Regions from separate parts of the Homo sapiens genome. Here region 2 is linked to region 1. Evidence: promoter capture Hi-C in 16 types of primary human blood cells and fetal thymus (Javierre and others, 2016). All regions are on one chromosome and are shown on one strand. The core of a region is centred on a gene start or on the middle of the fragment in contact, and the rest is flanking DNA. Distances in the headings are between cores, read along the strand shown.

Region 1 (6,020 bases), core at 3,480-5,979:
CTAGCAGTAAGATGGGACAATTAAAAGGCTCAGTTTTTTTGGTTTCCATCTCCCAGGTATCACTCTCTTTTATTGTCTGACAGTCAATATCCTCATATATTTTCTTTAGTTTATTAATTATTTCATGAGAGAAGGTAAATTCTCTGTTACTTCATCTTGCTTGGAAGTGGAAGTCTTCCCAAATCCCATTTTAGAGTCTGCTTCCTAGGATCATCCCTATTACTAACACTGTTCCAAGCTAGTTCCCAGGAACCAGGCTCTGGTGCTCTGAGATTTGCATGCATGAGGTTTATTAGTGAGTATTCTCAATAACATCTGTAGGGGAAGCAGGATTGGGGAGAAGGAGAAGTTAAACTGCAACGCAGTTGTAACAGAAGCCTTCATGGGTCATAAGGGAAGTTCTGGAGAGAGAAGCACCTTTCAGAGTTGCCCCATTTATATCCCCTTCTTACATAAACTAGTGGGACACATGTAGCTCTCAGTGCAAGTATACAACAAAGGGTGAGTGTCTCTGTCCAGAAGGGGAAACAGAACCACCCATCTGCTGCACAGATAATTGCAGCATTGTACAAAATAGGTTTGTTTGCATCCTGATGAAGCATTTAGTTACAGTTAGTCATTGCTTCTTCTTGAAGCAGCTTATCAAAATGGAAATTGTTTTTCAACTAATAACTTATTTCCATATCCCCCATTTTTTAAAGAACCTCTATTCAGAATTTCCTTTCACAGGTCATTAAAACTATAAATTCAATTTTTCCCAGAATAACGGGGCTTTCTGTGGCAGGGCCAGCAGGTTTCATATCTGCAGGATCCAACTTCTCCTTAACAGGTGTAGAGACTGAATATTACTGGACACAACTGAATGTCAGTTGTGATTTTTAATACCATTTCCAATGATCTGAAGTAAATATGTTTTGAACTCTGAAGTAGGCAGTGTGTATGTAGCAGAGAGTTTAGGAGCCTGCACTCTGAAACCAAAGTGTTCACCTATGCATTTTGACTCCATTCCCCCTGTGCTTTGGACTTTGGGCAAGTTGCTTTGCCTTTCTAAAGCTCATTTTCTTCGCTATAAAATGGGCAGAGTTTCATACTTCATAGGGTTGTGATCACTGAAGGTGTCAGAGGCAGAATAATGTGGTTATAAAGAGCATGGGTCTAGAGCCATGAGTTTGAATCATGCCTGATCACTTACTAACTTAATTTAGCCACTCTTTGCCTATGTTCCTATTTATAAAAGAGAGATTATAATAGCAAATCCCTAGGGTGTTTGTAAGGATTAAGTGAATTAATACAGAAAAATAGCTTAGAAGAGGGTCAAGCACATAGCAAGTGCTCAACAAATGTAAGCTCTTATTATTAAGGGTTTAGGAGCTTCAAAAGTGTGAATGAATTTGGTAGAAGAGGAGTTTTTGCTTTGAGTGACCCTACAGTCTAGTAAAGGAGAAAAAACAAGGCATAAGTATTAATAAAAACAAGACAGAATATTATAGGAATTTTAAAAGATGAACAAATAAAGTTCTGTGGGAAATAAAGGAGAAGGGTGTAAATTTCCATGGAAATGTGAAAAGAACAGAACTTGAAGTGACAGTTAAATTCAACCTTACACAGAACATGTAGAATGCATACTTTCTCATTTGGCTGGTTAAATTCCAAGTAATTTTATAATTGACCTAATTGCAAAGAGGTAGCTGAGCAGCAAAATATATACAATTCCCTATGGCTGTGGAATCAAGTGTCTGAAGATGGAGTTATGGATTTAAGAAACAGAAATGCTGCCACTCTGCCCACCCCTGCCATCTCCCACCCAGTTCCCTCCATCTAGGATTCCCATTGGTGGAGGGAGAAGTGGTTGCCAATTCTCACTTCCCTATTTAGGCAGATCCTCAAGCAGAGAGACTCCTGCCTGTTTTGTTTCTGCTGATATGGGGAAGTGGGTACCTCTAACCACTTCCCTAGGGAGCAGGCGCTACTGCTGCCTGAAGCCAAATATCTCTTCCCCGAAAAGGAAGTATAGATTAGAGAGAGGCCCTATTCTGGGTAGCTTGAATAAAATATAAGCCCTGTTTCTCAGTCTTTGACAGTTGTTAAATAGCAAGAGTTTGGAAATCCCTAAGCTCAGTCCCAGGGCAATCATCTGTATGGACAGTTAGTCCAGAGAATTGGAGAGAGCACAGGTTATGGAGTGGCCAATCTTCCTCTGCCACCTACCACCTGCTCCATGTCAGGCAAGTCCCATTTCCTGTCTGCATTTCAGTTCTTTACCTGTGGAATAATAACATTAGCTATAATTCTCTGAATGCTTGGGATGAGTCAAGCATATTTGAGGTATTATTCTTCCCTTTCCACAAATAAAGAAAATGGAAGTTAAATAACTCACCCATAATTACCCAACAAGAGTCAGGATTTAAATTCAAGTTTATCTCTAAAGGAGTTAGCACCCTTCCCTAAACCTTGCATGTAGTAGGTACTCAATAAATCACAGCTATTATTATTATTATTCCAAAGTGACATTGACAACAGTTATAAGAAAAATAAAAACAGCAGTAGGACCTATTGTCTTTTTTGCACTGCCACAATAAATATCATGTTAAGCTTTGTAGCTAGAACTATCTTAGAGAGGAACAGATTTGCTCTTATAATTACAGCCTGACCAGAACCTTAGCTCCAGAAAGAAGAGAAATTCCATTTATGCATGTTGCACTCTTAATATAATAAAGGAGAAAGAACACTGGCGTAGGAATTAATAGGCAACTTATACTCGTCACATCTTTTATGATTATCTTATTCCATTCTGGTGACAACCCCCTTACTTTATCCTAATTTAATAGATGTTTAAAAAGCAAGCTCTGAGTGGAGTAGTGATATGTTTGGCTTAAACTGGCAATGCTGACTTTAATGTGTTTAGTCCAAATTCCATCAATAAATAACCCAGCAACTTTTGGCAAGACATTTTGCTTGTCTTCGCCTGGAGTTATTTGTCCATAAAATACCGGTGGGATGTAGATCTTTTGATTTCTAAGGCTTATCTTCCCTAATTCTTTTGGCATCTTGCAGCCATTAACAATGGCTGCAGGATAGCCCTTGTTCAAGAAGAAACTCACCTCTCTGTGGGGTTGGCTGCTTAAAGTTGTGCTGTTTTCAGCCAAGAGTCTTTGTATATACTTATAGCTATAAATTTGATTACTCTGACAAAATTTGGTAGTAAATAATTTTTCTCACCATTTAGTCCTCTACTTTCATTCAAGAGAGTTCTCTGGAAATTTGAATTATGGTATAAACAAAGCAGAATCTTCATGATGTGTTCATTGTCTTTACATATATAGGAGATGTTTGCAGGGCAGTCTTGTAGTCATAATATTAACACTGCTGACTTGGAATTTATTTATTTTGCATATAGAAATACAACGAAGGGGCTGTCTGTCATCTAGGTAACCCCCAGTAGTAATCCAATAGTAATAAGATTGGGATAGTCTGACAAACCATAGGCTATGCTGAGTGGAGAGCCCTGAGCATTCATTTGTCAGAGAAGTTGAAAGATTTTCTCTGCAGGAAGCTGCCTCTTGCCTGCACAGGTGGAACTGTGAGCATGTGCCCAGTCCCATGAGTGGAGGGGATTTCTTTTATTTAAAGATACTTAACTATTTCTAGGCTCATGAAAGACACCAACCAGTAGTAGTGGTCCTAGGCCTAAGGGCTGTGTGTCAGATATCTCTGAAGTGAGGTTATATTGAACCAACACAATATTTTGTTTTGTTTTGATAAATTTGCAAGCTCTTGCAGTCTAAGCATGTCTCAGTTAAGCATAGTATCCACTACTCTGTATTTACCTGGCCAACTTCATTCATTCACGCTGTCTGCTGCTCCTCGAAACCAGGTGGTCTGTCATCTCTGAAAGAGTGGCTCCTATTTGCTGCGCTTTGCATCTTATCCTCAAAACAGAACTGTGAGTTAGGTATAACTCCTATTTATAAGTGAGTAATAGGCATCTCCTATTTATAAGTGAGTAAACTGAGACTCAAAGGGAAAAACTAGCCCAAGGCAAGATAACTAACAAATCACCACTGATGACTGAGCCTTAAGCCTGCGCCCTAATAAGTTTCATTTTACTTGGTTCTGTCTGTGTCATCTGGCCCCTGGACCTTTTCTGGAAAGTCTGCAAAGGACCACCTGAGCCCATGACTTGGACTCACTCTTTCATTCGAACAACAAGACACCTTATTGGTTTTATTACAGATATCATCACCTAGCCCTCAGCGACTCAAGGTGTCATTATTTTGCCTTCCTTACACCCACTGTGTTAATTTCTGGACCCCAGGTTTTCAAGCCATTGACAATTTCAGCGTGTCTGTAATGTCTCCTTAGTAATTATTGAAGGTACTTGTTATATTTAGCCAAGAGAATAACTGGGGTGGTACTAGGATAACATCTACGTTCAAATAGTTGGATATTCAAGAGTCGATATATGTCTATGGTTCCGAAGGGCAAAGCCAGGCAGTGTAGGTCCTGCAGAACTCCAATTAATCAGGGCTGCCCAGTAATCCTAATGCCAAACCCGTGCCCCAGAACCTCGATTTCTCCCCAGACACCAACTCCAAGTTCCTCCACGGGGATGTGGGATTTCAGTTTATGCTCTTGCGTCCCTCTGCAGCCACAGGCCGCAGAGCCCGCCCCCAGGGCCCCGCCCCCGCTCTCCGGGCGCTGGACGCGGGACGCCGTCTCCTGGCAACGCAGACGCGGAGCCGAGCGCGCCCGCAGGCTCTTTGCTCAGAGCTCAGCCCTACATAGATCGGCTTCTGCCATGGCCTCCAAACAAACCAAAAAGAAAGAGGTGCATCGTATCAACTCGGCGCACGGATCGGATAAATCGAAAGAGTAAGGGACCTCTGCCTGTCCGTCCCTCCCCTGGCCTAGCCCCTCGACCTCACCACTAGTTCTGGGGCTGCCTCCCTGCAGCAAACTGTGCCAGGGCAGAAGTTTAGTGGCCTCCTCGCAGCTTGTCTTCTCTGGTAAACCAGATCCTGGAGGTGCTCGCTCTCATCCTTCTCTCTTGCTTGTCTTGACTCACTTCCTTTCCCAGAGCCCCTGATTTTCTTGCTTTGGGTGTTCAGCTCCCATGGGTGAATCTGCCACCCCTCCTCTTCTTCATAGCCCTCTCAGGCAGTTAGAAAGGCCATAGCTTTCCTAAGAAAGAGGCATATCTCAAATACTTCTGGTTAAAGCCACATCTTCATGGCCCCGGAAATGATACAGACAGCGAGTGACAGACAGACATGGACACATTTCACCTTAATGGTGATTTTCTAGTTTGCATCTGCCCAGTCCAACGACTACGATCTTTAATCAGATATAGTCAGACGTAAAGTGGCTTCTAAACCTTAAAACATTATAAATGTATAGTTCATGTTACTAACATTTACTCTGAGAAAGTAAACAGACCCTCGCTCATGGAATTTTTATGGTGCCTTTGTCCTGGGCTGGTGTTAGGTGTTGTGTCTTAGGATGTACTTCCCCATGATTATTATTTTCTGTGGTCTGTTTCCCTAGGGATATCCAGTTATCCACAGCATAGGATTGGGGCTGTTTGAACTTACACCATTTCTAATGTTCATTCCCACTGTGAGAGAATCCCAGCTGCCCGCCCTGCTTCAGTGGGATCATTCATGTTCTTCATGCTCTGCCTGATGGGGAGGGCGATGCAATCAATCATTTCAAATTGAATTCTTACATCCTTGATGCCTGTTTCTCCATTTCCTTCCCTGGCTGAAGAATTCCACATTGGACTGATCCCTATGATTCACTGATCCCTAGGATTTAAACTCTTTTTCTTTGTGAATTCTTCTCCCAGACTCATTCCCATGTCTGTGAATCTCTAGTCCCTTAGTTCTAACCTCTCTCATAAGCAGGTTTCCAGTTACCCGGCAGATAATCCATTCCTTTTACTAGCTTAAATTTTAGATATTACATATATAAGTAATATTACATATATAATTTTATATAAATATTACATATGTAATTTTAAT
Region 2 (5,992 bases), core at 3,063-5,562, 250 kb before region 1:
TGGAGAGCCTGCGTGCTGCTGCACTCAGGTAGCCGTTTATAGCCCTTGTTGAGCTTTCACAATAAGAACATGATTACTATTTAGAACCAAGGCAGCTATTTTCATAACCCACTGTGAAGCAGTTAGGCAGGTATTCTTTTGAAAGTAAATAAACACAGTCAACTACAATTATTTGGTTCCATTTAGCATATTACAAAAAGTAATGGTTTAATGATATCCTAGTGGTCCCAAATAAAGTACCACAGAAAATGATCATAAAATTTCCTTCTCACTAATAACTCTGAGACAAGTGTTATGAAAAGGCACTAAACCCCAGGAAGCCAAAGTGTTTTCACCTTCCCACCAGGTGACAATGTTATTAGTTTATAATTCTCTATTTACTAGCCATGAAAATATAGGAGCTTTAGAGGACAGGGCAGCCTATAATAGATTTTGTTTGTTCAATAATAGATCCTTACAACATTATCTAGACAGTTGCTGTAGTAAAGGAAATGGCCCTATAAAAGCCACATGACTTTCCAACTTTATGTCACATGTTCCTGCATGCTAGTTTATTAGACTTGGGGCCAGCAGGGCTGAGACTGAGGTAGTAGCTGAAGAGAGTTCTTCCTGACAGTAGGACCCTCCTGGGTGTACAGAGCCCAGGGGACTGGCAGAGTAAGAGAGCATAGGTACTCACTTCAGATGGACACAAACACACAAACTCTGTGTTTATTTTGGAAAGAGGTGTGAGCTATTACATTGCAAATATTCCCCAGGAGCATGTATCTAGCCTCCCGGCTCTCTATATGACACTGACAGAATGGGCTTCTTTGTCATCATTTGCTGTTGGTAGATTGGGTGCCAGTACTTGTAGTCAGGGAGACAGCTGTGCACATCTGGAATGATCCCAGAGAGAAGTCCTAAACCAGGCTTGACAATGGTGCCAGGGCACTGAAGGATGCCCTGTCCTCTGTCACCAGAAAAGCTTCTCCTCTGTAGATTTCTATACCTGCCCCTGCATTGCCACTAAGTGTGACAGGAAGAACAAGGAGTGAGGAGGCATTTGGATCCAGGTTATACCACATGCTTTCCTCACCTGTAAAATAGTGAGACTAATGTTTAGTTGGCAGGATTATAGTAAGCATTATAGCTCATTTATTAAGTATTGTATATAACAAACAAGAAGTGGTAGCTATTATTATTATTATTATTATTATTATTATTATTATTATTGAGACGGAGTCTCGTTTTGTAGCCCAGGCTGGAATGCAGTGGCGCGATCTCGGCTCACTACAAGCTCCACCTCCCGGGTTCACGCCATTCTCCTGCCTCAGCCTCCAGAGTAGCTGGGACTACAGGCGCCTGCCACCATGCCCGGCTATTTTTTTTTTTTTATTTTTTTTTTATTTTTAGTAGATACGGGGTTTCACTGTGTTTGCCAGGATGGTCTCGATCTCCTGACCTCATGATCCGTCCGCCTCAGCCTCCCAAAGTGCTGGGATTACAGGCGTGAGCCACCACGCCCGGCCGTATTAGTATTATTGTAGATATGAAGCTATTGCCTTTACTTTAAATGCTCTTTCCCAAATATTTGCCTGATTCACTCCCTATTCTTCTTCAATTATTCACTCAATGCTCCTCTTTTTAGTGAGGTCTACTCTAACCAATCGACATGATACTGTCTCAACATACCCACTTTTTCTTTCCTGTTCTCTTGTATTTTTTTCTGTAACACTGATTTGATTGTAATTATTACATAATTTTCTTAGTTGTGTTAATTTTTAGAAATTTTCTATAGCCTTTTACAAGAATTTAAGTCCGGAGACATCAGGTATTCTTGTATGTTTTGTCTACATAATACCCCATTGAAAAAAGCAGTGCCAGATGTATCATAGGTATGAATAAATATTTGTCAAATCCTTAAAAAATTACATAACTGTGAAATTAGTTAAAAAATAATGACATTCTACTGACTATTGTTTGTATATACATATGTATACATCTATGTACATATATTTACGTGTGTCTATACATACATATTTTTATGTTAATCTTACCCTTAATAACCTCAGAAGATAAGACACAGTTAGAAGGCACCTGACTTAAGAGAGATGACACAATTTTCCTGGTTTGCCTTATTTACACCTGTGTTCTCAAAATAATTGTTGCTAACACTAACTTTCTCTCTAAAAAAACGACCCAAGTCATAAGTTCTATGATCACCCTAAATGAGGATCAAAAGGAAAAGACTGATCTCACAGATATCCAAGAACAGTTCCTGTCTCAGTGCTGATGAATGAAGTATCCACTAGACAACCACTGGCACTGGCTTAAGAAATTTGTACTGGGGACACCAACATAATTTTTTATCTATGTAAAATAAATCTTAAATAGTAGTTATAAAAACAAGAAGAGCAAACTCAGTGTCCATAAGGCTTGTGTCTAACAGATAATTTTTCATTTGGTAAAGAACATTGTGTATTTATTCTGATATTTTTCTACAGTTTGACCCTGTTGTTGGTTGTAATGACTGCAACTTTGGGTGATGGTTTTAGTATTGACAGGACACTTTAAGGGGCTGCTGTCTTCAAGGTTATTTTGCCACTCAATTTTTGTGTTTTTTTTTTTCTTTAACTCTTGGTAATTTCTATGATTCTAGTAGCTTTAATATTTAGCATTTGGGGTTCTAGGCGAGCCTATAAGGGCTTGTTTAAGAGTTATCAGGCAGATGGCACAAATTTACCTCTTTTATGGTCCCAGTAAGTTGGAGAGGGAGAGAAAGAAAACCAACAGTAAGGGCCATGGGTTCTGAGTGACAGACATAAGCTACTCTGTTTAAATGAATCTGCAATTTTTGGAAGGAGGATCTTTTCTTTCTTATGTAACTTTCTATACTTATTTTGTGTGGTTTGATTTTAAAATGCCCTTCCTCTATCTTACTCCTCATTTCCTCTTGGAAAATTTCCTTTAAATCAGGAAAATATTGCTTTAGCAAATTACACTTTTAACAATGTCTTATCTTGCAAAGCTGGAAAATGGATTAAAATCTAATCTTCTTCCCCTTTAACCTAGCCTGGGTATTTTATATGTCACTCTCAGGGTAGATATAAGGATATCCTTTTCAAACTTTTGACTACATCTAAATAGGCCTTTAAATAGAACTCTTTAAAAATGTCCATTTTCATCCCAAGTTCGATATCAAAGTCAAAACTCTTTACCGTTTCTTCTAAAGACTCAAACTGTCTAACATCCTAAATATTTCTCTGCTAGTCTTAGCCTGGGAACCTTAGTGTCCAGTGACCTATTTAGGTTGGAACAAAGGGCAGCTGGCAGGGAGTGTGAGGAGCCCCATGTTGTTCTCAACCCCATATGCAGCTAAATTGCTGACTTTCCCACCTTCTAGTACTTCAAACACACATCACATCGACCCCCTACTATCAGTCAAATGAGGGAGGAAATGCTCACTGCAGAGAGAAGCAAATTTCAGGAACCAACTAAAGTCTCTGAATTATGCCAGTGATGTTTTCCAAATATATTTTTTGTTTTCCAAACCTCTTACCTTTATTTCAGCAAACCCAGTTGGTCCCAAAATTTCTCATCCATATCTAAGTCCTGAAGTCTAGGCTTCCAATATGGAGCTTATATCTAACACAATACCATTCTTGCAAACCTGCTTGGCAGTAGGGGAGTTTTTGATCACCTGTGACATAGGTAGAAATGATTGCAGGGTTTTTGAAATTCACAGGTAAAATCTAAAGGCTAAAATTAATGTGTAGTGTGACTCTTCCATCAAGAAACATTTTACCTGAGTTTCCAATAACTAGCAAATCTGATTTAAATATTTCGGCCCCATCAACCGTATATAAGAAGAGATTCATACTGACCAGTTCTAACTCTGGATTTTTGTGGCCCTAGAAATGAAAAAAAAATAGTGGAATCACCAAAAGAAAATACCATGGTTTAGATAATGCATAAATTGAATTCCTGTAAACTGTAGATTGTCATAAAGGAATCAAAAAATGTTTTTCCAGTACCATGATATAGGAAGATATTTAATATAAGTTCCTGTGAACAAAGAGGGAGTAAGAGTTATTTCCATTACTCCTTCAGGATTTCTTTACAATATTCAAAAGTCCTTTATTTTCGCCTCTGTGGAGTTTGTTTTATATCTCATAAAACCATTATCGAATAGAGAGAATAAAACTGAATAAATCATTTGCAGGTGGAATCTGCTAGAGCTAGCCACAAGTACAAAGCTTGCACAGGTGGGCGTGGCTTCTGCCAGTGTCATTGCTCATTCCCTTCCTCTGAGAACCCCCAAAAGCATTTGAGAATTAAACCTGGGAGCCTAGTCTTTATCATTGTGACCTTGGTAGTGATCTATTTTTATTGTTACAGGCAATGAAAGCTTAGAAGAAAACTATGTCCAGGACAGTAAGATGGGGTTTGTCATCAATGCCATCTATGCCATGGCACATGGGCTGCAGAACATGCACCATGCCCTCTGCCCTGGCCACGTGGGCCTCTGCGATGCCATGAAGCCCATCGACGGCAGCAAGCTGCTGGACTTCCTCATCAAGTCCTCATTCATTGGAGTATCTGGAGAGGAGGTGTGGTTTGATGAGAAAGGAGACGCTCCTGGAAGGTAATCTTTTCAGTAATCAATCTAAGTAACCTTGTGAGCCTTCCTGTGCCAGACAGATGGCAACTGTGGCTTCATCTGGTTCCATGGTTTCTGGGTGCCATGAGGATAGATACAACTAGGTAGCAAAAAGTCCAGGGATAATATCAGATGAAATTACCAAAGACCACACCACTTTTTAAGACATTAAAATACTTCTTTTTCAACACCCAATACCCAGTATTCTACCAGTGCCATCCCCTAACTCACCTATCACTTGACCCTTTTTCCAGAATGCTTGGGACCTTCCTGCAAGCCCAGGAACCTAAAGAAATTACACTTGGCCAGCAGAAACCTCTCAGACCTTGCCAGCACCAGGCCAGCATCTTTCTGATTGATTGACTATATACCATTCTGGTTATGAAATATTTTGAATATTACACCTGGTTAAAGAGCTCAGTATGCAAAGAGAACTAAGTCCTGCATATGTGTCCCTTCTCCTCAGGCTAACCTATGTTTGTGCTAACATATGTCTTGGAGCAAGAAAGGAAACAACTTTCTTTTTGGGATTGAGCCCCTATGGCTTATTAATCAAACAAAAAGCAGATGAAAAGTAAACCAAGGTATATACATAAAATCCTCTCCAAGCCGTTTTACATACAGTCTGCTCTGCAATACTTGTTTTGATACTACCAGTTAGCTCAAGCATAATTGGTACATAGGAAATTTTGTTAGTATCAAGAATAGTTGTGTTCATTCATAAACAGTTTCTTAGGAAAGGCATAATCAGAATGGCAGAAGAATTAACACCTTCAGGAAGAAGGAAAAAGGCCCTCAGCTTGGCTACCACTCAGCAAGCCCAGGGTCTTATAGGCCCTGTCACCTGTCAGTCTACGATGTCCCAGACTTAGAGCTTTTTAGAAAAGCATATGCTGTGTTCAAGTGGAACATCAAATCATTTAATCTTCATTGCTGTAGGTGGATCATTGTCTTTCTTTTACAGATAATAAAACTGGGTATCAGAGAAACTAAGGAACTCACCTAATGTCCACAGATTGCAAGCGGTGGAGGCAAGTGCTCTCACTCTGAGGCTTCTAATCTTTTACAACATCACACTGCCTTTTAGCAGATCCTAAAATTAGGCAACGTGGCTGGCAATCTTCTTTTCGGTTTTTGAGAAAGAGTCTCACTCTGTTGCCCAGGCTGGAGTGCAGTAGCACAATCTCGGCTCACTGCAATTTCTGTCCCCCAGATTCAAGTGATTCCCCTGTCTCAGCTTCCCAAGTAGCTGGGACTACAGGTGTGCACCACCACACCTGGTTACTTTTTTTGTATTTTTAGTAGAGATGGGGTTTCACCGTGTTGGCCAGGCTCATCTTGAACTTCTGA

The links. Contacts are between HindIII fragments. The CHiCAGO score rates a contact against its expected background, and 5 or more counts as called.
Region 2: a fragment that was not itself captured here is called in contact with the fragment with the promoter of ADGB in region 1 in 1 of 17 cell types (M1 macrophages); the score reaches 5.2 in M1 macrophages.

Annotation. Positions count from the first base shown.
Region 1 is chr6:146,594,243-146,600,262 of GRCh38, forward strand. ADGB (androglobin) reads left to right here and starts at 4,730. Exons shown (of 36, transcript NM_024694.4): 1 at 4,730-4,872. The coding sequence starts at 4,799. ADGB-DT (ADGB divergent transcript) reads right to left here and starts at 4,689. Exons shown (of 3, transcript NR_125860.1): 1 at 4,591-4,689; 2 at 3,828-3,929; 3 at 274-2,262. RefSeq lists a silencer at 4,531-4,825. The HindIII fragment of the contact is 3,644 bases long and covers 2,591-6,020 here.
Region 2 is chr6:146,347,870-146,353,861 of GRCh38, forward strand. It overlaps GRM1 (glutamate metabotropic receptor 1), which reads left to right. Exons shown (of 8, transcript NM_001278064.2): 4 at 4,381-4,627. Among named protein-coding and RNA genes, the nearest start is that of RAB32, 190 kb to the right of the region's middle. The HindIII fragment of the contact is 152 bases long and covers 4,237-4,388 here.